Linked DNA regions of Homo sapiens: all the other regions are linked to region 2. The links are contacts of gene promoters, found by promoter capture Hi-C in blood cells and fetal thymus (Javierre and others, 2016). All regions are on one chromosome and are shown on one strand. Each heading gives the region's core, a stretch centred on a gene start or on the middle of the fragment in contact. The rest is flanking DNA. Distances are from core to core; before and after follow the strand shown.

Region 1 (3,624 bases), core at 823-3,322, 2.6 Mb before region 2:
TTGCGAGATTAATTTTGTTCTGGAAGATCCTGTTTTCCTCCTGGCGCCTACATCCTTTTGTTCCTATTCATTCCTTTTTGCAAGTCTTTCTGCACCTGTGATGCTTGGAGCCTGGTCCCCGGGTGGGGAAGCAAGGAAGTGAGTAGTCGTTATTTACACATGAATTCAAACGTGTAGGCACAGCGACTTTGCCAATTTTATGTTAATTACAAAATGCATTTACTGAGGATATCTTTGAAAAGTGGTTTTTCTTTGAAAAGGAATTTGCGAACTAATCTGAGTTCATGCAGAGAAGTAACGTAAATCTTCATTACATTTATTTTTCTTCCTGCAAACTGGAAATGTGGGATCTAAATTAAAAAGTTTTCACAACTAGCTATTATATTTATAAGTACTTTTGTGAGCGCTAAAGTTTTGTCTCTATGAAAAGTATAGGAAATGGAGTGGCATGCTATAAATGTTTTATGACACTTAGTTTGAGATACCCACAACTGGCACTCAGAGTGAGTTACGCAGGCAATACCAAACAAGTGGCAATAAAACCTTTATAGTCCCTCACACCATTATGTAGTTTGTTTATGTCACATAAATCAGGGAAAGATATTAAGGGAAAATTCTAGTGAGTATTTTTAGTAATATTACTCTGTCACCATATGTTCCTTTGCCATTTAAATGAAATTTCCTTAGTTCACTCTAAATCAGTACAATTATATTTATTTTCAAATGTTACATGTCTACAAATAACATCATTACATTTTTTATCAATACTATTTTTAATTGACAAATCATAATTGCATACATTTATGGGGTACAATGTGATGCTTTGATATATGTAAATAAATCTTTTAAAAATTTTGTACACTTGATGATACTATCTGAAGAATGTCTTCTTCCCTACTGAAAATATACTTCCAGCTCTGTGAACGTTTCGGGATCTCTCAAATGATTCGTAACCAAGCTGCTTCAAGTCTGATCTAGGTAATGTCAAACTCTAGAATGAGCATTGTTGGTCCCGTGTTTTTGTTTGTTCGTTTTTTCAGACAGTCTCGCTCTGTCGCCCAGGCTTGAGTGCAGTGGGGTGATCTCGTCTCACTGCAACCTCCGCCTCCCGGATTCAAGCGATTCTCCTGCCTCAGCCTCCTGAGTAGCTGGGAATACAGGCGCATGCCACCACGCCCAGCTAATTTTTTTGTATTTTTAGTAGAGACGGGTTTCACCATTTTGGCCAGGCTAGTCTCGAACTCTTGACCTCAGATGATCCGCCTGCCTCAGCCTCCCAAAGTTCTGGGATTACAGGCGTGAGCCACCGCGACCTGTGAAATACGTATTGATTTTCTAATGGGATGGGAGTTAGGGTGGAAAATGTGGGGAGATTGTTCATGGGCATGTTCTAAGGCATGACTAACTCTAGACAATAAACTCAGAAGGAAGTGGGAGATGGAGGTGAGGAAGAAGGAAAGAGTTTTTTTTGTTTTTTTTCAGACAGGGTCTCGCTATGGTGTCCAAGGCTGGTCTTGAGCTCCTGGCCTCAAGCAATCCTCCCACCTCAGCCTTCCAAAGTGCTGGAAGATTCCTTCTTAAGTGTAGGATTTACTCCAATTCATCTTAAAACCAAACTGCCTTTGATTTAATCAATTTTCAAATCTTGCCCCGATTTTAGAATTGAGATAGAGTGTTTTGGTTTTTCTTTTTTGGGGGGGAAAGGAAAGGAATATGTAAATGACTAATTGGAACTTCTGAATGGGCATTTTTTTTTCTTAGATAGCGTCTTGCTCTGTCGCCCAGGCTGGAGTGCAGTGGCGCGATTTCGGCTCACTGCAAGCTCTGCCTCCTGGGTTTTACGCCATTCTCCTGCCTAAGCCTCCCGAGTAGCTGGGACTACAGGTGCCCGCCACCACGCCCAGCTAATTTTTTGTATTTTTAGTAGAGACGAGGTTTCGTCGTGTTAGCCAGGATGGTCTCGATCTCCTGACCTCGTGATATGCCCACCTCAGCCTCCCAAAGTGCTGGGATTACAGGCATGAGCCACCGCATCCAGCCTGAATGGGCATTTTTAAAGTAGCTTACATATTTATTCATTCAATAGATATGTATTTAGAGCCTAATACAGTGCCAAGCATAATACTAAATGCTGTGAATACGAGGGTAAATTTAATACAACGCCTGTCTTTATGGAACCTGTAATTTATGAGGAAAAGAGGCAGACACACAACTAATTGTAATGCAATAGGATAGTGTTAAATATAATAGAAATTGGAATAAAGCACCAGAGGACAATTGAAAAGGAAGTAATTGATTTTGCCTCTCAAAAAAAAAAAAAAAAGAAAATAAGTATTTCAACTGGTAGAAAGATTGTAGTTCTATTGAGTACATAGTTCATTGCCTTCCTTTTGTAGTTGAGGAAGCTGAGGCCTGGTATTGAGTGACTTGCTTTAAGATGATGGAGGGAATCAGTTGGGGTGAGACCCAGGAAACCCCATCTTCACTGAGGTGGCCTTGTTCATTAGCTTGTTGGGAAATGCAGAATTTGGGGTTGCCTAACTAGAAATGTAGTCAGTAAGTCCACACATTCCTATGTTATAAATAGACCAACCATCAAGAAGAAAGATCCAAGAAGGTCAAGTTTGTGGTTTCACTGAGAATACAAGGAATATGTGTGTGAGAAGTGATTTGAACAGGGAAAGAAGATATGGTTTTAAATTTTTCCCTTCTCTTCTGGCATTGAGGGAAACTATAAGCCCTGTCTTTGCCAGAGCAGCCCTGGTTTCCATCTCTTAGGTCAACATCATAAATTAAATTAAAACATCAGAAAGGAAATAAAAATTAGCCAGGCATGGTGGTGCACCTGTAGTCCTGAGAGGTGACAGCGTGCTGGCAGCCCTCGCTTGCTCTCGGCGCCTCCTAGGCCTTGGCGCCCACTCTGGCCACACTTGAGGAGCCCTTCAGCCCACTGCTGCACTGTGGGAGCCCCTTTCCGGGCTGGCCAAGGCCAGAGCCGGCTCCCTCAGCTTGAGGGGAGGTGTGGAGGGAGAGGCGGGGGCAGGAACCGGGACTGTCCGGGGCGCTTGCGGGCCAGTGCCTGTTCTGGGTAGGCGTGGGCTCGGCGGGCCCCCCACTCGGAGCTGCCAGCCAGCCCCGCCAGCCCTGGGCAGTGAGGGGCTTAGCACCTGGGCCAGCAGCTGCTGTGCTCGATTTCTTGCCGGGCCTTAGCTGCCTCCCCCGGGGGGCAGGGCTCGGGACCTGCAGCCTGCTATGCCTGAGTCTTACCCCCTGCTGTGGGCTCCTGTGGGGCGGAGCCTCCCCGATGAGCGCCGCCCCGCTGCTCCATGGCACCCAGTCCCATCGGAGGCCCAAGGGCTGAGGAGTGTGGAGCACTGCGTGGGAGTGGCAGCCAGCTCCACCTGCTGCCTGGTGCGGGATCCACTGGGTGAAACCAGCTGGGCTCCTGAGTCTGGTGGGGACTTGGAGAACCTTTACGTCTAGCTTAGGGATTGTAAATACACCAATGGGCACTCTGTATCTAGCTCATCTAGTGGGGACGTGGAGAACTTTTGTGTCTAGCTCAGGGATTGTAAATGCACCAATCAGCACCCTGTCAAAACGGACCAATCAGCTCTCTGTAAA
Region 2 (3,447 bases), core at 256-2,755:
CAAGGTCTAGGACATTATCACAGGGGTTTCGGGGTGTTAATGCAGAACACCCCCCCCACCACTAACAAAACAGCAAAACAGCCACTAACAAAACAACAGCAGAGGGAATTGAGGATTAATTAGGGAACTCACTTTTTCTTCCTAAATTTGTAGGGGAGATGCAGAAATACCCGTTCCAATATGTTAATTTCCCTTAACATAGTTTTTTAGTTTGTTACCAGTCTCCTTATTAGTGGGAAAAGTAACATTTAGAGGAAATTTAACAAAACAAAAAATTTACTTCGTTTTTAGGTCAACTGATGTCTCTTTTATGAAAAACATAAAAAAAGTTTTCATGAAATGTTTTATGAAAAAAATTAAAGGCTTTTCTTGGCATAGGGTCTTACAACTTACACAGCGTCTTCCCAGATTATCTCTTATTTAATAAAAATATAATTTAATCTACCCCTACTCCCCAAATCAGGAGCTTTAGTTATGGGTACATACGCCTACAAAAGTCACGCATCCTGCAACTGTGAACTTTTTGTGCCTGTCATCTTCAAATACTGATTACCTATAACATGACAATTGGCCCAAAGGCAAAGAGGAGAGTCTCAATCCTCAGGAAGATCTAGGTACAATAAGAAAGGTAAAGGCAATTTAAAACAAAAATATAGTCCATAACACCATTGAAAAGATTTGGTTCAAGTGTGGTAGTCAGGACATGCCAGGTACAGTGCTTAGGGCAAACATCATTTCAGGAACCTTCATAGCCACCCTGAGGAAAGTACTATCATTCTCATTTACAGATGAAGAAACTCAAGCCTAGAGCTGTTGTTATCATGCCTAACAGAGTGCCCCCAAACCCTGCAATGATTCCCAACCCAACCCTGTAAGAGGCCACATACATTTCTTCCTTAGTTCACGGCTATTTACAAATGACTAAAACCACCAGATCCGTCCAGTGGGCACCTACTAAGTTCATGGTACCGGGATGGAAAAATAAACATTAGCCTTTGGCCTCAAACGGCCAGGGTTGAAAGGATTCTGATTTGAAAAATTAAAAACAAAAATAGCAGAGATAAAGGCTGTCTACGGAGTTCAAGGCCACAATAACCCTAAGTAGTTCACGTCAAAATCGTAGCTTTGAAGGTCCTGGGCCTACAGGACAGGCGACGACCCTCAGAGAGGTCAGAGGCGGCAGAACCTGTGCTGGGCTTTGACACAAGGCGTTGCGTCGCAGATGAACTACGCGGGGGTAGGGGTGAGAGGCCCCGGCCAGCAGCTGGAAATCCCCCTCACGTGTGCGGGCCTCCTCTTCCACCTCTCCCCGGGTTCCCCCGTTACGCCGCCGGGCTCCCTCGCCACCCAGGGGCCTGTCTCCACTCTCCCACTCCTCTCCAGGGCCTCCCCCGTTCCCCTTCCACCTTAGCTTGAGCTCTCCTCCGCCCGGCTTCGGGCAAGATGCGAGTCCACACAGGCCACACTCGACCGACCGCTTCCCAGCCAGTCCCCGCGCTACCACTGAGAGGACGGCAAGCGCGGGCTAGAGGAGCTCAACGCCACCACAAAGAGACGTCCGGGAGAAGCCTAGAGCGGACACGAGGCTGGCCGCCTCCGGGGACGGAAGGGGCGGGGCGGTGTGAAGTGGCAAATGATTCAAGGCGAGGCAAGAGGTGCTTCAGATGCTGTCTTTTGCAGTCCTCCGAGAGGTTAGGGATGTGGGAGGTCCCTGGGGGCCATCTCTTACAAGACACAGTTTCCACTAAATTGGATCGTATTTGTACATCTCTACACCTGTGCGTGATAGTAAACTTTTGCACCCAAATACCCCGACCCCTGAAGGAGAGTGTGAGTTAAAAGGATCTGAAGAACGGACCCTTTGTTTAAGGTCTCACATTCTATTTCTTTAATTCAAGCGAAATATATTCCAAAATGCATCTTTTATTGTAAGCTATAAAAATAGCTATTACTTCGAGTAAAATGTAGGCTCCAGGAAGATGCTTGTAAATTTTCTCAGAACAGAAATGGTATTTTTATTGTATCCTTATTGTCTGTCACAGTATAGGTGCTCATTAATTTTTAAAGTGGGTTTTATTATCTAGAATCCAGGAGAACTGAAAGTCTCTTAAAGATTCTTGGCCTTTTAATTATCTTAAGGTCGGGATAGCAGGGAAACAAAAACTTGTTTTAAACTCCCAGTGAAAAATGAGGAACAGGTAAATAAGACAAGCCCCACCAAGGCCCAAGCGTGCTAGTAATTCTCTGCATCTACTGTAAGCTGTTTTCTGCAGTGCGTCTATGGTCCTCCCACCACTTTCATACTGCTCGCCGACTAGGCAAGCGATTTGATGCCTAGAACTAGGGAATGACAGAAAGGAAAAAACAATGAATAGTTTCTTCAACTGTGTCTGCAGGAGGTTGCATTCTGTAATTCTTTTACTGTTTACTTTGTGGTTGGCACTTTGTTAAGCAATGATTAGACAAAAACAAAATTTATTTCTGCTTCCAAGGAGCTCACAGACTAGTGAGAGAGGAATAAACAGTTAATCACAGTGTGGTGTGAAAAGTGTCATAACAGAAACACATGGATATAAACAGGATAAAATGATAGGGGCTAAAGCAGGAGCGTTCTGGGAGGAGATTAATGCCTGCATGGAACTTAATTTGATGCAATTGTGACTTCCTAGTAAACTAGGCAAGCTATCCTAAAGGTAATGAAACAGAGAAGGCTCACAGATCAAATTAAGATTATTAAATAATATAGCCTATTCAATTTAAGTATCCAGTGAAAAGGTGAAAGAGTTGTGGTAAGTGGACACACTTAGGATAAGGTGCAAGCAAGTGGAAGGACGCCATCACCTGAATCATGGGTTAAGTAATGTTCATATATCCTATCTGCCACAACAGCCTTCTCCGCTGGTGGTATACTTACGAGGACCAGAGGTGAGGTGTCAGCAAGGAGGCCCACAGGTGGAAAGTGCTTTGGGCCAATGGTACACACCTGCTTTATTGGATAGACGCAGAGAAGTATGCCTGGTCACAGCCAGAGCTTACTCGGTAAGTTGTTGAACAGATACAGGTTTTATTTGCATTTCCTGGGCAGAGCACATATGAGACTATTCTAAGTGTGACCAATGGGTGGCTGATTTAGAGGTGACATAGTTAATAGCCCAGAGATGTCATGATTGCTCATTGCTTAGTTTTTCCATCCCTTTTTGGCTATCAGTGACTCTCTATTCCATCATATTTCTATTTAACTTTGGCATGTCTTATAGTTTACTAACTTACTCTATATATTTTACATAATCCTGCCTATGTTTCACAAAGTACATGCTTACTCATATTCTATATTTAAAATATGCTAGGAGTTTTGCATTTATCTCATAAGCTACTAGCTTAGTTACTGTCTATAGTTAACACTTCTTACGCCTTTCATCCATCCCTAAGGAAACTGCAAAGCCTTTC
Region 3 (3,920 bases), core at 1,421-3,920, 2.8 Mb after region 2:
ATTGGTAGAATTACTATAAAGTTTTTCCCTATTATCGCAACATCCTTCATTTTCTCTTTCATATCAAACATTTTCTAAATTTTCTCTTACGTTCTACAGATCACGAAGTATGTTTTAACATTAGCCTGAGGCAGAGGGAGAACGAGAGAGAGAGAGAGAGAGAGAGAGAGGTATTAGCAGATATTACCAGATTTTGCCAACCAGTCCTAGAAAATACCATCTTCAGCATCATCCTGACACCCAGCACCACTAACCCAGCCTTGAAGCTTTCTTTGCTTTGCCCCTTTCCAAAGTAATCTTGGAAATTACAAATGACTGGCAGTTTGCCTGTGTTTTTAAAAGCACTGCTTCAGGGTGTTTTATTTTGAAAATTAAAAGACATTTTCAAAAACTTTTGGATTGTTAACCTTTTCATTCTGGCTGCCGCTTTTCTTATTTGAAGATAGCCATGGTAGCTGTCACTAGACAAAAATAACTTAACAGCTTGGGAATTAGCAAACAGGTATTTAAGAGTGTCTTTTTTTTTTTTTTTTTTTTTTTTTTGAGACAGTATTTGGTGTCTAGTTAGGAAAAAGACAATTTACAGAATATGGAGTCTTCCCTCCACATCCTACCCAATATTTCTCCTTGGGTCTACATTTAATTTCCTCTTTCCATTTCAGATTTCTTTCAAAATATTTGATGTAGACAAAGAAGAGCTTTTCAGAACATTTCAGCACCACCACCACCACCACAGCCCCCTACTCCACCCTAAGTGCTGGTTTTCTGATTACACATCATCAGGGCATGCGCAGATTTTGCATGTAGTTTCTTGAAATAATTGTGTCATGCTAAGATCTTTCTAAAATGTTCACTTTTATTTGGGATTCTGAGGAAGTGAAAACTACCCAATTCCATGGCTGAACTTCGTGTTGGTATTTTGGTCTTAACAAATTATCAGCTTGACCAGGTGGTAATCTTCCTGCTTTTCTATTCTGATTTTTCTACCTTTACTTTTCTATCTCTTTTCTTATAACATCTAGTTTCTTTAAGAATCATTTAATTTTTGCCTACTTCTATTTCTCACCAGTAGTTTATGCACTCAGACTTTGGAACGAACCCACATGTGGTTCTGTAATTCAGAAGTTGCTCCCTTGAGTCTCATTTTCCTCTTGTGTTAGAATTGAAAGGGAAAGATCAGGAAAAGAAAATCAGATTTAGAAAAGATTAGGCATTGCCGGGCACGGTGGCTCACGCCTGTAATCCCAGCACTTTGGCAGGCCGAGGCGGGCAGATCACCTGAGGTCAGGAGTTCGAGACCAGACTAACCAACAGGAAGAAACCCTGTCTCTACTAAAAATACAAAATTAGCCAGGTACGGTGGCACATGCCTGTAATCCCAGCTACTCGGGAGGCTGAGGCAGGAAAATCACTTGAACCCAGGAGGCGGAGGTTGTGGTAAGCCAAGATTGTGCCATGGCACTGAAGCCTGGGCAACAAGAGCGAAACTCTCTCGAAAAAAACAAACAAGAAAAAAGAAAATGAAAAGATTAGGCATTTCCATATTTCTGATATTTATCCAAATGTTTTCAAATTTTGGGTCAATATGGGTCTTCAGAAGTATTGAAAGGCTATCTAACCCCGTAGTATCCAACCAGCTCAAAAGAGTAAGATGCTTTTTGGTGATGTTTTGAAAAAGGGCTGTCTTCAAGAATGGCCTTCAACCAGTCGTGCCAGAAGCCTCACTACGAGCCCTCGCATCCCAGAGGTCCCATCAGTTCTACACAAGTGGCATGTGCTGCTCCCAGCCATCCTTCACCCTTGCTCGAGCTCTAGGTACAGTAAAGAGGGCCCAGAGCCCAAATTTGGTCACTTGTGTAGCTTAAAAGGATGTTTAAAATTTGTCGACAATTTTACATTGTTATTTTTTGTTCAAAATAAATCATTGTTTTCAATTAGCCCTAAAAAATTAGATGCTGTTTCCTGTGTCCAATAGGACCACACTAGAGATGTTGATAAGGTGTGTAAAAGTATCTTATTTGAGACCATGATAGAATGACTGCAAGCCTCTGGGGCTTAATGTGAAAGCTCTTCCATCCCAAAGCTTCCCATGCAAATATGGAGGCATCAAAGCCTAGAAACTATGCACTACCTTGAAGATTCATTCACTAGAGTAGGTGCATGTAAGATATCTGATCAGTAGGGATTAGACTTGATATTCTTTTCTTTATTCCCTAACCCTATCATGTCTTGAAATATTTATGTATGTATATTTACGCATTTATGTATACAAATCTTTGTGTGTGTATTTATATGTATATGTATATAAATTTATATGCATATAAATACACATACACACATAGTTTCTTTTTTTTTTTTTAGACAGAGTCTTACTCTATTGCCCAGGCTGGAGAGCAGTGGCATGATCTTGGCTCACTGCAGCCTCTGCCTCCCAGGTTCAAGCGATTCTCCTGCCTCAGCCTCCCCAGTAGCTGGGATTACAGGTACCCACCAATTTTGTATTTTTAGTAGAGATGGGGTTTCACCACGTTAGCCAGGCTGGACTCGAATTTCTGACCTCAAGTGATCAGCCAGCCTGGGCCTCCCAAGGTTGGGATTACAGACATGAGCTACTGCACCCAGCATAGGTACATGTATGTATGTATGTATGTATGTACGTGTGTGTGTGTATATATATATACGCACACACGCGCACACACACACACACACACACATATATATATATATATATATTTTTTTTTTTTTTTTTTTGAGATGCAGTTTCACTCTGTCACCCAGGCTGGAGTGCAGTGGCGCGATCTCCGCTCACTGCAACCTCCGCCTCCTGGGTTCAAGCGATTCTTTTGCCTCAGCCTTCTGCGTAGCTTGGACTACAGGTGCACGTTGCCCCACCGGGCTAATTTTTGTATTTTTAATAGAGACAGGGTTTCACCATGTTGGTCAGGCTGGTCTGGTTTTGGACTCCTGACCTCGTGATCCACCCATCTCGGCCTCCCAAAGTGCTGGGATTACAGGCATGAGCCACGGCGCCCGGCTGATACATGTATATTTTTAATGTATAGCCAGCTTCTCACTTCAGGTAGCTTTTTGGCACCTATGCTTTTATTTAAGCTCGATAACTATTTCTCACAGGTTATGTTATTATTTGGGTCAAAAATATTTAGGGTGCCTTTTACACAAAGGGTGAGGTAAACTCTAAGTGCCCAGGACTCCCTCTGTGTCCTTCATTCCAGAAAGCAGGGCATTTTTAAGCTTGCACTCTGCTTGGCTCATTCTGCAACATAATCTTCAGCATGAGGTCATCATGGAGACTGGAATTTTGAAAGTGCTTGATCTTGGCCGGGCGCGGTGGCTCATGCCTGTAATCCCAGCACTTTGGGAGGCCGAGGTGGGCGGATCACCTGAGGTTGGGAGTTCAAGACCAGCCTGACGAACACGGAGAAACCCCATCTCTACTAAAAATACAAAATTAGCTGGGGTGGTGGCGCATGCCTGTAATCCCAGCTACTTGGGAGGCTGAGGCAGGAGAATCGCTTGAACCCAGGAGGTGGAGGTTGTGGTGAGCCGAGATCGCGCCATTGCACTCCAGCCGGGGCAACAAGAGCGAAACTCCGTCTCAAAAAAAAAGAAAGAAAAGAAAGTGCGTGATCTTAACTTGCAAGAAAAGATGGTTACCCTTTGAGGTATGTCTCTCTGAATTTTACATAATCACGTAAATTGTTTCCAAAACAATCAGTAGGCTGGGCACGATGGCTCATGCCTATAACCCTAGCACTTTGGGAGGCTGAGGTGGGAGGCTCCCTTGAAGCCAGGAATTTGAGACCAGTCTGGGCAACATAGCAATACTAGGTCTCAACAAAAAAATAATAATAATTAGCTGGCATGGTGGTGTGAACCTACAGTCATAGCTACTCTGGAGG
Region 4 (3,866 bases), core at 879-3,378, 2.3 Mb before region 2:
CTTAAACAGGAAAGCCTTCTTGTTCAGGACTGTCATAGCTACAGGTTGCAAAAAGTGCACTATTGATTAATGCAGTGTAGTGTCAATTAGATGTACATTCCTGAGGTCTTTTATCTGTTGTACCTTTGCCTTTTTCTTTTCATTACATCAGGCATGTTACCCTGTAAATTATGGTAGTGTAGTGGTACCAGGAATAAAAAACTAAGGAATTTTTAACTTTGCAATAAAAATTAAAATTAAAAAGTATAATGACTTAACTATAAAAATTCAAAGAAAAACTTTTAAAAAACCACATCTTACTCATTAGTTATCTTGTGCCACACTGTAAGCACAGGTGCAAGTCATTTTCCAGTTTTAGCAACTACAGTATACTTCAACCTTCTCAGCTAAAGAAATCTTTTTAATCCACTTGAAGCACACAGCATGGTGTCTGACATGTAAGGGCTTAGTTACCAGTAACACCCTTTAAAATGCACAACAGGCCTGGTGCGGTGGCTCACGCCTGTAATCCCAGCACTTTGGGAGGCGGAGGCGGGAGGATCACAGGGTCAGGAGATCAAGACCATCCTGACTAACACGGTGAAATTCTGTCTCTACTAAAAATACAAAAAATTAGCCGGGCGTGGCGGCGGCAACTGTGGTCCCAGCTGCTCAGGAGGCTGAGGCAGGAGAATGGCATGAACCCGGGAGGTGGAGCTCGCAGTGAGCTGAGATTGCGCCACTGCACTCCAGCCTGGGCGACAGAGCAAGACTCCATCTCAAATAAAAAAAAAAAAGCACAACAAACACCATGTGCATCAACCACCAATATAAATAAAGTCATGAAGGGGGCACCCATAAACTTGAAGCATTTTTACTTAACTGCTAGGTAAAATCTCAGAATTTTACTGATTAAAATATGTATTTTATGTGTTCTAAAGAAGAAAACCAACTCTCAACATTTAGATTGGCAGAATGTCAGAAATGTCGTGTTTAAACAAGTATCCCCTTCCAGTTCCCTACTGTGGGTAGCATTTATCCACTCAGTGCCCAATAAGTGCTATCTTCTTGGGAATGCAATGGTTTACAGATGAGGTTCCTTGCCTTCACTTAGCCTACAACCTTACTTTCAACTAAGGGTGTTAAATGCTAGGATACAAGTAGAGGGTGCTGTAAAAGGGAGGCACTAACCGAAATATGAGAGGGGTGTTTCTGGCAGAGACATGAAGCTGACTATAGTAAGACTACTTAGACAAGGGGTAGGCAAACGTTCTATAAAGGGCCAGAGAGTAAATATTTTAAGCTTTGCAAGCTATATGGTATCTGTTGTAACTAAACTCTTGGCAAAAGCAGGCACAGACAATATGTAAATGAATAGGCATGGATGTAATACCAATGTTATGGACCCTGAAATCTGAATTTCATATAATGTCCACATATCATGAAATATTACCCTTTCTTTGATTTTCTTTCTCAATCATTTAAAAATGTTAAAACCATTCTTAGTACACGGGCTATAGAAGAACCAGTGCCAGCTCCTGGTCCAGACTGGCAAAGAGCATGGTGCTTTTATACCTGACATAGGCTCGCTGGGTCTAGAGTGTGATAAGCAAGAGGAAGGACATGGGTGGAGAGATGGAATATTTACATTAACACAAAGTTTTTTGTAGTCTGCCACTGCACCATCCAAAAATGATGAGATGCTTCACCACATTCACCAAGCTCATGCTACAGCAGTAGGTTGAAGCCCATGTTGGAAAGGCCCCACCTTTCTTTTTTTAGAAAAAAAGCCAAATTTCACTTTTTAAAAAGTTCAAAGATGAGGGAAAACTACTTTTAATCTTTATAGTTATCTTTAACTTTAGGTCAAATTTATAGAAATAGATTTATAGCAACTCTGTGGAGAACAGAGTAAAGCAAAATTACTGGCCCTACTTCTCTTTAAAAAACATCCCCACCTACTTATACTGTCTGTTAAGTGATATGTTAGTTCATTACTTTTGAATACCTCTTCTTACAATCCACAAGTGCCTCATAAAGTAGTCTTAAAAGGGTGTGCTTTTTTTCAGTGGTGAGATTCCAGTCAGAAATCCATTTTCTAACCTACAAGAGATTGACAAAAGGAGAAAACTGAGTAACACATATAAAGTATAACATATAAAAGTACATTTCTGGCTGGGCGTGGTGGCTCACGCCTATAATCCCCAGCACTTTGGGAGGCCAAGGCAGGAGGATCAACTGAAGTCGGGAGTTCGAGACCAGCCTGACCAACATAGAGAAACCCCGTCTCTACTAAAAATACAACATTAGCCGGGCGTGGTGGCGCATGCCTGTAATCCCAGCTGCTCAGGAGGCAGAGGAAGGAGAACTGCTTGAACCCTGGAGGCGGAGGTTGCGGTGAGCTGAGATTGCGCCATTGCACTCCAGCCTGGGCAACAACAGTGAAACTCCGTCTCAAAAAAAAAAAAAGTACATTTCTTATAAGCAGAACAACTATTCCACACAGTAACTCACTTGATCCAGCTCAGTTGGGATGTACTGGATGGCCCCACAAGATGCTGCCACTTTAATAAGGCTGCAATACACTGTGTATCTTACAGGAGTATTCTTATCCATCCCGTGGAAAAGGTTGCTTAACCTGGTTGGTTAACAAACAAATAAACAATGTTTGAAATCAGCAACCAGTTTTAAGTTGAGGTTAGCTCTCACCACAAACCTGTGGCAGGTACCGTTAACAACTTCATATTACAAAGGAGGAAACTAGGGCACAGAAAGGTCAAGCCACTTGCCCAAGGTCACAGCTAATATGAGCCACAGCTGAGAGTCAAGTTCCAGAATTCCTGCTCTGCACCATTAAAAGTTAGTAACATGAAAAAAGCACCTAGAAAAACTGAGTTTCTTTCAGATCTTAACTTACAACTGCAGTCTCAGAGACGGGCGTTCACCTTCGCGAAATTTGACCAGCTTTTCACATAGGCTTTCAATCAAAGCTTCTTGCTTGTCTGGTTCCAGGATCAAGAGTAGGGATACCACACTGTTCATCACACTTTCAACATCTACACAAGTATGGATAACACAATCAACAGTGATACTACAATACTCAATGCGTCTAGTTAAATATGCATTTCCAGTGTTTTAATACAATGAAGACCATCAAATGTAAGACACTTTCGCATTCAGAAAGCAACTTGTATATTTTATTAAAGAGGAAGGAAATTGATACCTAAGATGTGGTTTCTTTTTTTTTTTTTTTTTTTTTTTCAGATGAAGTCTTGCTCTCTTGCCCAGGCTGGGGTGCAGTGGTGCGATCTCGGCTCACTGCAACCTCCGCCTCCCAGGTTCAAGCGATTCTCCCGTCTCAGCCTCCCAAGTAGCTGGGACTACAGGCACCCGCCACCACGCCCGGCTAATTTTTGTATTTTTAGTAGAGACGGGGTTTCACCATATTGGCCAGGCTGGTCTTGAACTCTTGACCATGTGATCCACCTGCCTCGGCCTCCCAAAGTGCTGGGATTACAGGCGTGAGCCACTATGCCTGGCCTATGATGTGGTTTCTAACTAGTAAAACAGAGACTGATTTACATGTATATAAAGTTTCAATTTTCACTGTCATGATATTCAATCATTTGGAAGTTACTGGTATGATTTAGGACTAGGATACTTTCTTAATTAAGGAAAACTTTGTGTATACATATAGGAAATCAGAAATTAAAGCTGTCAGCTCTCTGCTTGAATTAGTTATTTTTAAGTATTACAGATATTAATCATATCCCAAATTTAATCTAATTTTTTTGTATATGTGCTGCCGAAATCAGCATCCAAGTTTGATCTCTAAACCTTAACTAGAGATTTCCGAACTCAACAATTCTGAAAATTTCCCATTCTAT
Region 5 (3,574 bases), core at 217-2,716, 2.6 Mb after region 2:
ACGCCCACCTGATAGTATAGCAGAGAACTTGTTTACATTCTTTTTACATTCATCTTCTAAAACCTGGGGTGCTCTCTCTCTCTCTCTCTCTCTCTCTCTCTCTGTGTGTGTGTGTGTGTGTGTGCGTGCACGTGCGCGTGTGTGTAGAGGGGGAGAGAGAGAGAGAGAGAACTGTGAACTGTGAAATATAACACAGCCAGCAGCTTTGGGTCTCAATCGTAGACTTACTCTTAAGGAAATTTACAGAATGGAAAGGTCATGTTCAAGTAGTTTATTAACATTTTGAGATGTAGGAAATTAATCCCGGAGTACAGAAGAACAATTTCAGACTTCCTGAATAAAAACAGACAGCATAGAGAGTGGATGATAGCTAAACTCTGAATATCTTTTGAGAAGAAAGGCACTCCCATTTCAGGTGCCCATAATATGGATTTGATTTTAGTGATTAAAACATTAATTTTCAACTTGCATCTCCCTGTGTGGAAGAGTTCAATTTGTGTGAGGGGTCTCGCCTATCCAACAAAAGTGAATATGTCCCTTTTATAGGGTAATTGCTAACTTGTCTCAACTTGTTTTCAAACAATTGTTATAGAGCACTCAGTTTCCACTAATTGCAAAATTGTTGCTTAATTGAAGGACTCTCAGCCATCTAGTGCAGCCATTCAGCCACTGGCAGGCTCTGTGATCTCAAACTGTGAATTGCATTTTAAAGAGGAATCGAGGAGAGAATTCTGTGGAATTCTAGGTTTTAAGTGCTGGCTGTTGTTCAATGGAAGAGGAAATCATTTGAACAAGAATCGCATCAAGTTGTGTTGTGATAAATTTTCTTTATTAGGATGAATAACATGCACAGATGAGCTTCAAAAGTGAATGAGCAAACTTACTGGTTACACTCTGCATCCATTTACTCTGTTTAGTATGGAGTAATGTTAGGCAATAAATGATGCTGGCAAATGAAATCCGTATGTTATTTGCATGTGGTATTTAAACCTAGGAAACATAGAGTGGCTTTGGTATTTGTAGGCTTAGTCATGTGTGTCCTAAACGTCCTCTTAAACTTCTACTTAAGGCATAGAATTATTTAATCCTAAATAATTTTATACTTAAGTGCCTCACTGGATTTCCAGAATATTTACACTGTAAAGATTTAGAAAGGTCATGAACCCAATTATTGACTATATGGAATCATTATTGATGGCAGATGCAAAATGGAGCTCACTAATGTACTGACATTGAAAACCTTTTGCAGGGGAGAGGAGGGGGAGTGGTAAATGTGTGTGTTCTTTAAGTGGAACAGGAAGGTATTCTCTTTTCTGTAGAAAAATTTGAGTATCTGGTCAGATAAGTGTGGAAGCTTTCATTTAAATTAAGTATTTAAGTTCAAGTAGAAGCTCTAGGGCACTTATCCTCTTGATGAGACAAATCTTATCAAATATACTAGATGCTAAGAAGTGGCTCATTGCCCTGATGTCTCATTTATAGATTGATGTTTGAGGATGGGTTGCATTAAGTGAGTTAGGGGGCTGAGTGTGGGACAGGAGAACGATTGGAAGGAAGCAAAGTAAATTTACAAGCTTTAGTGACAGCCATAATAAAGTAAAAGTTTATTTCCAGAGAGCCTAGAGAGTAAGGAACGTTATATAGTTTTCCCCAAAGGTTCACTTGAAAGAACTTTTCATTGGTTGTCATGGTAGTAATGTCCTGATTTTGAAATCTCCCAGAACCTAGTAGCTCTTAAACATGCTTTCATCTTGGTTCCTTTGGTCTGACGGAAACTTTATGACGACCCTCTGTGTTTTTGACATGCCTCTGCATTTTTGGAGAGAGGAGGTCAGGCAAGGGAGGATTTCTTAAAACTAAGACAGTATAGTAAGGAAACATAAAATTATATGATAAAAAATCACTGAACTTCAAATTGACTTACTGAAATAAAACCTAGAAGGCAACCTGTCGTTTAATTACAACTAGCTTGTATAAAATTAAAATTTATAAAATGGGAATTCAAAGAAAATAAACGGGCAGTTCCAAGTAATTTAAGCAACTCACCAAAAATTGAAGTAATAGTGCCACCTAGAGAACAAAATCACCAGCTTTACTAGCCAAATGGCTTATTTCCATATGAACCATTTTTCCAACGCTACAGTTACTAGGATTTCCTTGTTACCATATTCAGATCTTGTGAGTGTGTATGGGGGTGGGGGTTGCATGTGGAATTACAGATGAAATTTTAAAACAAGCAGATCCACAATTTGATATATGCACTAAATCCTTTTAACGTTGTAATGTAGCCAAATGTAGAATAGCATGCCAGGAATCAACGGCTAGCATCCTTTTTAACATTTATTATTTTCATGGATATGTACCAAACCGAACCATTGAGTATAAAGGTTCTGATTTTATTTATTTGCTACAGGCAATTCATTATACTTTCTGAGATACAATAACACCAAATAATTTGAGTAGAGAGACCTTTAAGAATGTTTTCGATTTATGATCTACCTTTAACTTTAATGTACTCAGAAGATGTGAGAATAAAATAAAGTCAAATATAAGCAAGATTTTAAACACACACACAAAAAACAAACAAACAAGAAAAAGGAAGAAAATTATAAGGATTGCCTTAACCTTAGAATAGATGAAGGTATACATCTGAGCCAGCACCAAAAAAAAAAAAAAAAAAAGTTATGGAACCAGGAACCAATAATTACAAATTGACTTAAAATTCTTGGATGACAAAAATCTATATTTAGTTCATTTTTGCATGCGCCCACAACAGCATCCAAAACAGTTCTGGGGAGGCACTTTGATAAATGTTGCTGAATGCACTAATAGATTGATTAATGGCTGCTTCAGATTATCACTAGTGATGTAGACAGAAACTTCATGAAAATGGTTTGTCTTGCTGGAAGAAAGGCAGAAATTGGAGGAAAAGGTTTAATAATATTTTTCCCCAGTACCTATTATAAAAGTCATTTAGTTGGCTTAGTTCTATAATTTCTTATGTGTAATTTGATTCACTTATGAAATTGTGAATATATGAAATGTTAAAGTTGATTTAGACAGCAACTATAAGCTTGTGGATTTTCTTTTAAATGTCTTCAAATTTTTAAATGCCAGTGGAGATGCCAGCGACTGTGCTTCAGGGAGTAGAATATAGTATATCTTAAATTTGTGCCAATTTCTGGTAAGCAGAGAAAAAATTGCATGATAACCAAAGAAAGTCATATTGTTTGTGCTTTGTGTTATTCATGGAAGCAATCAGGTGCAGAAAACTTTCTTTTTCAGAAAAAAAAAATTACTAAAATAAAGGTGCGTGTGTGTGTATGCACATATATCTAAAGGGAGAGAGGGAGAAGGAAACTTACTAAATAAAATTTTTGCCACATGGGATTTAGTCTAATCAGTCTTGGTTTTGGAGTTGCTATCATCAGTAGTTCCATTTTGTGATTCTTTCTTTCTGCCTTCATGTGCCTTTGAAAACTGAAACTATGCCCAAATTAAAACAAGTTTTTCTGTCTTTTCACATGTTCACTTATTTCTTGAATGTGTTTTTAAACACAGACAAACTTCTTTT
Region 6 (3,481 bases), core at 406-2,905, 3.0 Mb after region 2:
AACTTGGCGGGCCAGATGTGGGCGGCGGGGCGCTGGGGGCCTACTTTTCCCTCTTCCTACGCCGGTTTCTCTGCTGACTGCAGACCCAGGTCTCGGCCCTCCTCGGACTCCTGCTCAGTCCCTATGACGGGCGCACGTGGGCAGGGGCTGGAGGTGGTGCGCTCGCCGTCGCCGCCGCTGCCGCTGAGCTGCAGCAATTCCACCAGGTCGCTGTTGTCTCCCCTTGGCCACCAGAGCTTCCAGTTTGACGAGGACGACGGTGACGGGGAGGATGAGGAAGACGTGGATGATGAGGAAGACGTGGATGAAGATGCCCATGATTCAGAGGCCAAAGTGGCGAGCCTGAGAGGAATGGAGTTACAGGGGTGCGCCAGGTAAACCCGAGGCCGCCCGGCCGATTCAGCCCTTTTCAAGATTCCTTAGACCCTCTTAAGTACCCCCTTCTAACATCCTCCTGCCCTCCGCCCCAAAGGCAGAGCAGGCACTTGCAGACTGAGGTGCCGTGGTTTTTTTTGCACATAAAGAGCCCTGTGCAAATTCTTGCAAATGACCATAGATTTCCTATGGCTCTTAATCCTTTTTTCCTGAGATATTATGATTGCTGCAGTCTCACTTCCCAGAAAAATGTACATAGTCTCAAACACACAAAACTCTGCTACCATTTCAGGCGTTCTATGAATCCTCAAAAGCCAGATTGTGCACTGCAGAACTCTTATCCCAAACCTGAACACCAGAACGTGGTTTACTGCACCTTAGTAGTACCTGTGGTTGGTTATTCTGAAAACATACTGATTGCTAGTGAAGTAGGTTGTAGTAAACAGGTCACTTTTTATAACATAAAGTGCTGAAGCACAGAGATTAGCAATGTCAACCTCAGCATGTGGAGACGTGGTTAGAGAGGATCTGAGCATGCACAGAGGAATGGATGTCATTGTATCAATGTTAGGACCAATGGGGTTATTAAAACTGTCTTAATTTGTTTATTTCTACTGTTACTCACTCAGCAAACATTGTTTGCCACATATTAGTCTACGTACTGGGGACCGTAAACAAGATACTGGTCTCTACTCTCATGAATTGAAGCCTAAATCAATCCACTTATTTTACAGATAATAAAACCATGGCTCAGAATGCAAAAAGTGACTCAAAGGCATGCACCTAGTTATTAGCAGACCTGGGTCTACTACGAAGATAGACAGATCATGTTCTCTTTCCTAAACTGCATGCCTAGTATTGGGTATACAGAAGTAGGAGCAAAGGGCCAATCCCTGAAGGAATATTTCTGAGACAGGCCCAGTAATGCAGGTCTATTCTGGGATAGACTCATTACGTTTTCTTCGGAAATCATTTACAAGTTTATGATTGTCAAGCTGTGTAAGGCACAGTACAGGAGCTCTAAGAAATACAGGCCAGAGAACTCATGCTTTATGTGTAAATAGCAAGATTCCCCCTTCAGTACAGGGTGTTCATATCCAGCATGAGTGAATGGAATATGGAACCCATATGAAGTAACCCGTATACATGGTTACAGGAGTGAATTAGTTACGAATGAGAAGTAAAAGTAAGTACATTGGTGGGAATGGAGATCAGAAAGAGTAACCAAGCAAGCCACTCATCCAGGCTGGTTGTAGCAACAAGAAACAGGCCTCCTCTGATCAACCTGATAGTAAAATTTAATGGTAGAGTTAGGGTTTCAGTAAATTGTTTTCATCTGGGCCTTTGTAGGTATTCTTCAGGACTGAGTTGGTCTCAAAGGTATTTAAAGTAAATTTGAAGGCTTTAGGAAATACTTTCTGAGCATAATCAACTGGACTAAGCAATCTGGACACAAGTTAGTGACCTGCGGAATAAATGACCATCGGAACTATAGCTCAGCTACTGAAACCTTGCATTAGTTTCCAAGAGCCAAAGCCCTGACTAAGTGGAGCCTGCCAGGGGAGGAGGTGAACGTATGTACGTCTCACTTATCCAAAGCCAGAATGAGCTGGTAGCACCACAGGGCTAAGGCTGCCTTCCTTATCACATTTCAGTCCCTATGAATCAAAGGAGTAGCTGGGACGTGGGTTTGAAAAGAGAATGCTGAAGTTGTCAAGCATTGTGTGTGGCAAGTGTCAGATGCTTATTAGGTGCTCAATAAACGTTTGCTGACTGCATGTCCATTTCCCACTTCCTAAAGAACAGATACATGCAGTGATTATTGTCAAATGCTTCAGAAACTTAGCACTTCCTTTCAGGAAAGGTAGATTTTTAGAAAATTTCCTCATTCTTTCTCTCCATTGGTCCTAACATTCTTTGATACAATGACATCCATTCCTCTGTGCATGCTCAGATCCTATCTAACCATGTCTCCACATGCTGAGGTTGACATTGCTAATCTCTGTGCTTCAGCACTTTGTGTTATAAAAAGTGACCTGTTTACTACAACCTACTTCACTAGCAATCAGTATGTTTTCAGAATAACCAACCACAGGTACTACTAAGGTGCAGTAAACCACGTTCTGGTGTTCAGGTTTGGGATAAGAGTTCTGGAGTCCACAATCTGGCTTTTGAGGTCAAACTGCTGACCTCTCTTTGGTGCCCTGGACAGCTTGGGGGTGACAGGATGAAGAGAGCAGGCAACCTGAGTCAGCCCTTTCATTGTTCTGGGTTTTGAGTATTCTGTGTGAAGCAGAGAGCAACCTAGAGCTGTGTGGGATTTTATGCCTTTTCTCCATGCCTCACCTGCCATATTGATCTGACTGGCAAAACGAATCGGGTAAGGCTTCTTTGAGCTAGGCTCAGGCATCAGCTGCACATAATGGATATTACCTCAAGGTATTTTTGGTATAAATAGTGCCATGTTTAGAGGATGCATTGACCTTCAAGGGTATTGGTCAGAACTGAGATTAAGCTCAAAGTTAGCTTCAGACAAGATAATGAGAAGCGTTTTCCTGGAATATTTTACAATGTGCTCTGGGCCTGCTGTTTATTCAGCTTTATCCTGGTTTTTCTACCACTATCCATTAGGAAAACCATGCTGTAATAAATATCTTGTTCACAAATGGCCACTTGTCAAGCCTTTCTTGATTATAAGTAGAGCTGTAGTGTGTGCGCCACACATTTTGAACACATTTGTTATAAATATTAAGGAAGGAAATTTAATATTCAAAGTGTCATTTCTTAAAAGAAAAGCCCACTGATCTGATTGTCTTTCAACAACTGTTTCCTAGGACCCTACTATATTCTAGACCCTAAGCCAGGCTCTTGAAATAAAAAAATGAGTTGAGATATATTTTCTTTAAGGAACTCATGACCTGTGGCAGAGATGAGCAAGTGACAGGAAGCCCAAGAGTTGTGGCTCCAGGCAGTGCTGGAGTTGAATTTTGAAGGGACAGTAGGAGTTCGTCATAAATGACTTACTAAGTACTTACTGAGTGCCTGGAACTATATTAAGTGCTTTAGCATGGATAGTTTCATGCAATTCTGCCTGTAAGGTAGCCAG
Region 7 (3,673 bases), core at 880-3,379, 2.8 Mb after region 2:
TAATTGTAGTCTATGTGTTTAAGAAGCTGCAGAAAAGTTGAGCATGTTAAGACATAAAAGATGTAAGACACACACCCACACCCAAATCAAACTGGTAGAGGCAACAACTACAATGTTTTATATGAAGAATGAACTGGACAGGATTTCAATATTAGATATTGAAAAAAGATTAATGAATATGAAAACATAGCAATTATCCAAAAGGAAACATAAAGAAAATCTTGAAAAAAAAATGAACAGAGCGTCACTGAGCTGTGAGACAATGCCAGTTAGTTCAATATACATGTATATTATGTACATGCACATGACTCCAATAGTCACACCAAAGGAGAGGAGCAAGAGAATGGAAAGAAAAAATATTTGAAGAAATAAGGGCAATGTTTGCATTTGTCTTGCTCTACCTGGTATTCCTATCAAGGCACCTGGTATATATTAGGTGTTTAATAAACATTTCTTGAACACATTTGCAGCAAAAAAAAATGACAACGAGTAAGAGATAAGCACCTGAGTGTTACTGCAACGTATTTAGGCCATCAGAGGACAAAAAAGGGGAATAATATGGAGAAAAGGCTTGGTAGAAGTGGCATGCCTTCAGCAGGGACCCACGAAATGGGTTCAACTGAGTGTGTACAAAGTTTGGAGACTAGGAAGGGATGAAGAAGGGCATTCCACACAAGAACAACACAAATGAAGATTTGGAGCCTGGCACAGTGGCCCACGCCTGTAATCCCAGCACTTCGGGAGGCCAAAGCAGGAGGACTGCTTGAGCTCAGGAGTTTGAGACCAGCCTGGGCAACATAGCAAGACCCCCATCTCTACTAAAAATTTAAAAATTTGCCAGGCATGGTGGTGCTTGCCTGTAGTCCTCGCTACTGGCAAGACTGAGACAGGAGGCTCTCTTGAGCTGTGATTGCACCACTGCACTCCAGTCTGGACAACAGAGAGAAACTCTGTCTCTAAAACAAACAAAAAGACTTGGAATCAGGAATAAATATGGTTGAAACTATACTATCTGGACTGAAGTGGTGGTTGCACTTAGTGGTAATGAGAAATGAAGTTAGTTGGATGAGTTAGGGTCAGAGTATGCAAGGCTTTAGAAATAGGAAACAGGAGAGAAACCATTGAAAGTTTCTGAACAGAACTTGTGATGATGAAATCAGAATTCAAGGGGAGAAAAAGGAGCATAGTGGTGGCATCCATGATGGATTTGGAGAAGAAAATACTAAAGGTGAATGGAAAGGGTGGACCAGGGGCAAACAGGTTATTAAAACAGTCCCATCATGAAGTGTTGAAATGCTGGATGTAAACACACCTACCACAGTATCAGTACAGACTAAGGGCTTGGATAAATGTTAGTCAAATCCAAGTACTAAAATTCTTCTTGGTTCGCGAAAATTTCAGAAGTGGCTCAAAAATCTGTAATGCATTAAGAATATTATTTGCTTCACAATATTTCATTTACTTAAGATTTTATAAGAATCAGCTGCTTATAAAATTGTTACTTTGTGGTGCACCAAAGCACCTTGTTCTCTCCCTCACCCAGATATGTTTCATGCTCTTTGTACTTTCCACCCCTTAACAGATTTGGAGGGAAGATTCAAGCCGTGGATTTTTAAATTTAAAGCAATGCTGTCACAAATTGAGAACTGACAACATGTCATTACACATTTAATTGCCACCGAATCCCAGAGTTTAAAAATTGTAAGGACCTAAGAGATAGGACCTCTCGTTGTACAGATGCGGAAACTGAGGCTGAGAGAGGGTAAGTGAACAGTCCCAGGTCACAGAGCTGCTAATGGGCAAGGTGGGACTAGAATCCAGGCTTGACTCCTCTACGCTGAGCCAAGGGTTCGAAGCGATTGGGATAAGGGAAGCCTGAGGCAGGGAACGAGAGTCAGGAAAGCAGCTCTTCCCAACCCTAGGAGGCCGGGGGACCTCGTCACCGCGGAAGGAGCGGAGCCAGGCCGACCTAAAAAGCCGCAAGTCCAGGTACCCTTACCCTGATGGCCGCGGCGACACACTCGGCCACCTTCCTGATCTCGCGATACTAGCCGGTACTCACTTTTCCGGCTTCCCCTAGGCCCCGCCCCCCCACCTCAGCCCTTCTGTCGTCATTTCCTGTGGGTCTGTAGGTTAAGGGAGAAGATGGCGGCGCTAGGGGAACCCGTGCGGCTGGAGAGAGGTGAGTGCAGCCGAGGCTCGGCGGAGGTGGGCGGAAGGGTTGGGGGAGTGCTGTGTCGCTGGAGGGGAGGAGGAGTGACCCAGGCTCTGAGATCCGGGCCACGCTGTCCCTTGTGCCGGCGCCAGAGGCCGCCGTTGTCTCTGTGCCTGGCTCTAGGAAGGGCGCTTACGGTATTTTGTCTGTTAACCGTAAGCCCTCCTCTGTTCACACGGACTGTTCCAAGGCACAGCACAACTAAACACAACCTGCCCGCTTCGCAGACACACGCCGCACACGCGCTCCCTTGGTGAGCACAGCAGAAGCAGCATTCGGAGACCCGTACACCCGAAAAGCAAACGTCACACACCCGGTTCGCACAGACTACACTCATTGCCTGTACAGCACGAGAACGGACACACGGTACAATTCAACAGAACCTCCTTTCCCCGCTGTTTGCACACAAACTCCTTCATTACTTTCTCCACAACCTCGCTTGTATTCGGGTTGGGGTATTTGCTAGCTTTTGTGCCCCTCCTAGAAATGGAGAGGTTGCTTTAAAAACAATCCTACTGACTTGGTCTTGGGAAGGAGGTTACGTAAGTAAGCCGAATAGTGGTAGATGCTAAAACACTTGCAGGTGCAGTGTTTTTCATTTCTTACAAACCCTACAATTGCAAACTGGTTGGCTGATTGCTTCCTAGAGCAGACTGTCAAGGAAAATAAAACCACCTCTGCTGAGTAATTAGAGATAGAGAAGCCTACGAAAATAACTGGCTATGCGCCTACCATGATTTCCAGCATTCCAGCGTTTCCAGTCCTTTTACAGATTTCCAGCATTCCACTCTGTCCCTAAGTCCTTTATTTCAAACAATTTCAAGCATGCTTTTCATACACCAGCATTAGAAATCATTGATAGGAATTGAGAAGTACAAATAAACATTTTGAGTACTGGTGGTAAAAAAAAATGTATATGTAGGATGGAGACTGAAATTATATTGCACATATTAACATTTGCAATTAGTCTAAATATTACTATTGTTCCCTAAGAAAACACATTTTTAGAATTACTGTACTTAGAAAAACCTCTTTCCTAATGCCTTCCCACAAACAAATGTGCACTTAATGTTGCTGATTTGCTCTTTACCGTGTTCACCATTTGGAAGCCTCACTGTAAATGAGATTGTTTCCGTTAAGCCTATTAAAGCATCATTTTAGAGGACTAGCTACTCTGGGAAGACTTGCCGAGTTAGGCCTAAGTCTCTGACATCTTCCTCTTGAGCACAGTGGCACTGTGTTTTATAGATGGGAGCAAATCTGTTTGGTGTTAACAGGAGTAAGTTTTTTCTTTGAAAGCTAGTTAAGATTCTAACGTATTGGTCTTTTGTGTTTTTGTTGTTGCTGTTTGGAGACGTAGTCTTGCTCTGTCGCCCAGGCTGGAGTGCAGTGGCGCGATCTCGGCTCACTGCAACCTCTGCCTCCCGGGTTCAAGCAATTCTCCTGCCTCAGCCTCCC

The links. Contacts are between HindIII fragments. The CHiCAGO score rates a contact against its expected background, and 5 or more counts as called.
Region 1: a fragment that was not itself captured here is called in contact with the fragment with the promoter of ARL14EP in region 2 in 3 of 17 cell types (activated CD4 T cells, non-activated CD4 T cells and naive CD8 T cells); the score reaches 7.8 in activated CD4 T cells.
Region 3: a contact is called between a fragment that was not itself captured here and the fragment with the promoter of ARL14EP in region 2, in 1 of 17 cell types (total B cells). The highest score is 5.0, in total B cells.
Region 4: a fragment that was not itself captured here is called in contact with the fragment with the promoter of ARL14EP in region 2 in 3 of 17 cell types (non-activated CD4 T cells, total B cells and activated CD4 T cells); the score reaches 5.8 in non-activated CD4 T cells.
Region 5: a fragment that was not itself captured here is called in contact with the fragment with the promoter of ARL14EP in region 2 in 1 of 17 cell types (total CD4 T cells); the score reaches 5.6 in total CD4 T cells.
Region 6: a contact is called between a fragment that was not itself captured here and the fragment with the promoter of ARL14EP in region 2, in 1 of 17 cell types (activated CD4 T cells). The highest score is 6.3, in activated CD4 T cells.
Region 7: a contact is called between the fragment with the promoter of LIN7C here and the fragment with the promoter of ARL14EP in region 2, in 5 of 17 cell types (non-activated CD4 T cells, total CD4 T cells, total B cells and 2 more). The highest score is 13.5, in non-activated CD4 T cells.

The regions. Positions count from the first base shown.
Region 1 is chr11:32,887,955-32,891,578 of GRCh38, reverse strand. No RefSeq gene overlaps it. Among named protein-coding and RNA genes, the nearest start is that of QSER1, 3.0 kb to the left of the region's middle. RefSeq lists an enhancer at 1-417. The HindIII fragment of the contact is 5,575 bases long and covers 1-3,624 here.
Region 2 is chr11:30,321,162-30,324,608 of GRCh38, reverse strand. It overlaps ARL14EP (ARF like GTPase 14 effector protein), which reads right to left and starts at 1,505. Exons shown (of 4, transcript NM_152316.3): 1 at 1,407-1,505. ARL14EP-DT (ARL14EP divergent transcript) reads left to right here and starts at 1,663. Exons shown (of 2, transcript NR_187437.1): 1 at 1,663-1,691. RefSeq lists silencers at 1,276-1,405, 3,060-3,119 and enhancers at 1,476-1,725, 1,238-1,843. The HindIII fragment of the contact is 9,349 bases long and covers 1-3,447 here.
Region 3 is chr11:27,478,413-27,482,332 of GRCh38, reverse strand. It overlaps LGR4-AS1 (LGR4 antisense RNA 1), which reads right to left. Exons shown (of 4, transcript NR_131170.1): 4 at 1-125. Among named protein-coding and RNA genes, the nearest start is that of LGR4, 7.6 kb to the right of the region's middle. The HindIII fragment of the contact is 1,169 bases long and covers 2,086-3,254 here.
Region 4 is chr11:32,587,763-32,591,628 of GRCh38, reverse strand. It overlaps EIF3M (eukaryotic translation initiation factor 3 subunit M), which reads right to left. Exons shown (of 11, transcript NM_006360.6): 3 at 2,897-3,035; 4 at 2,494-2,617; 5 at 1,988-2,082. Among named protein-coding and RNA genes, the nearest start is that of EIF3M, 5.9 kb to the right of the region's middle. The HindIII fragment of the contact is 1,687 bases long and covers 1,285-2,971 here.
Region 5 is chr11:27,693,694-27,697,267 of GRCh38, reverse strand. All of the region lies in intron 1 of BDNF (brain derived neurotrophic factor), which reads left to right. All of the region lies in intron 6 of BDNF-AS (BDNF antisense RNA), which reads right to left. Among named protein-coding and RNA genes, the nearest start is that of BDNF, 5.0 kb to the left of the region's middle. The HindIII fragment of the contact is 220 bases long and covers 1,357-1,576 here.
Region 6 is chr11:27,359,729-27,363,209 of GRCh38, reverse strand. It overlaps CCDC34 (coiled-coil domain containing 34), which reads left to right. Exons shown (of 6, transcript NM_030771.2): 1 at 1-374. The coding sequence starts at 16. Among named protein-coding and RNA genes, the nearest start is that of CCDC34, 1.7 kb to the left of the region's middle. RefSeq lists silencers at 1-48, 1,894-2,188 and an enhancer at 1-601. The HindIII fragment of the contact is 3,738 bases long and covers 1-3,481 here.
Region 7 is chr11:27,505,225-27,508,897 of GRCh38, reverse strand. LIN7C (lin-7 cell polarity scaffold C) reads left to right here and starts at 2,129. Exons shown (of 5, transcript NM_018362.4): 1 at 2,129-2,182. The coding sequence starts at 2,146. BDNF-AS (BDNF antisense RNA) reads right to left here and starts at 2,046. Exons shown (of 7, transcript NR_033315.1): 1 at 2,000-2,046. RefSeq lists enhancers at 1,723-2,012, 2,083-2,212, 1,369-2,568. The HindIII fragment of the contact is 9,378 bases long and covers 1-3,673 here.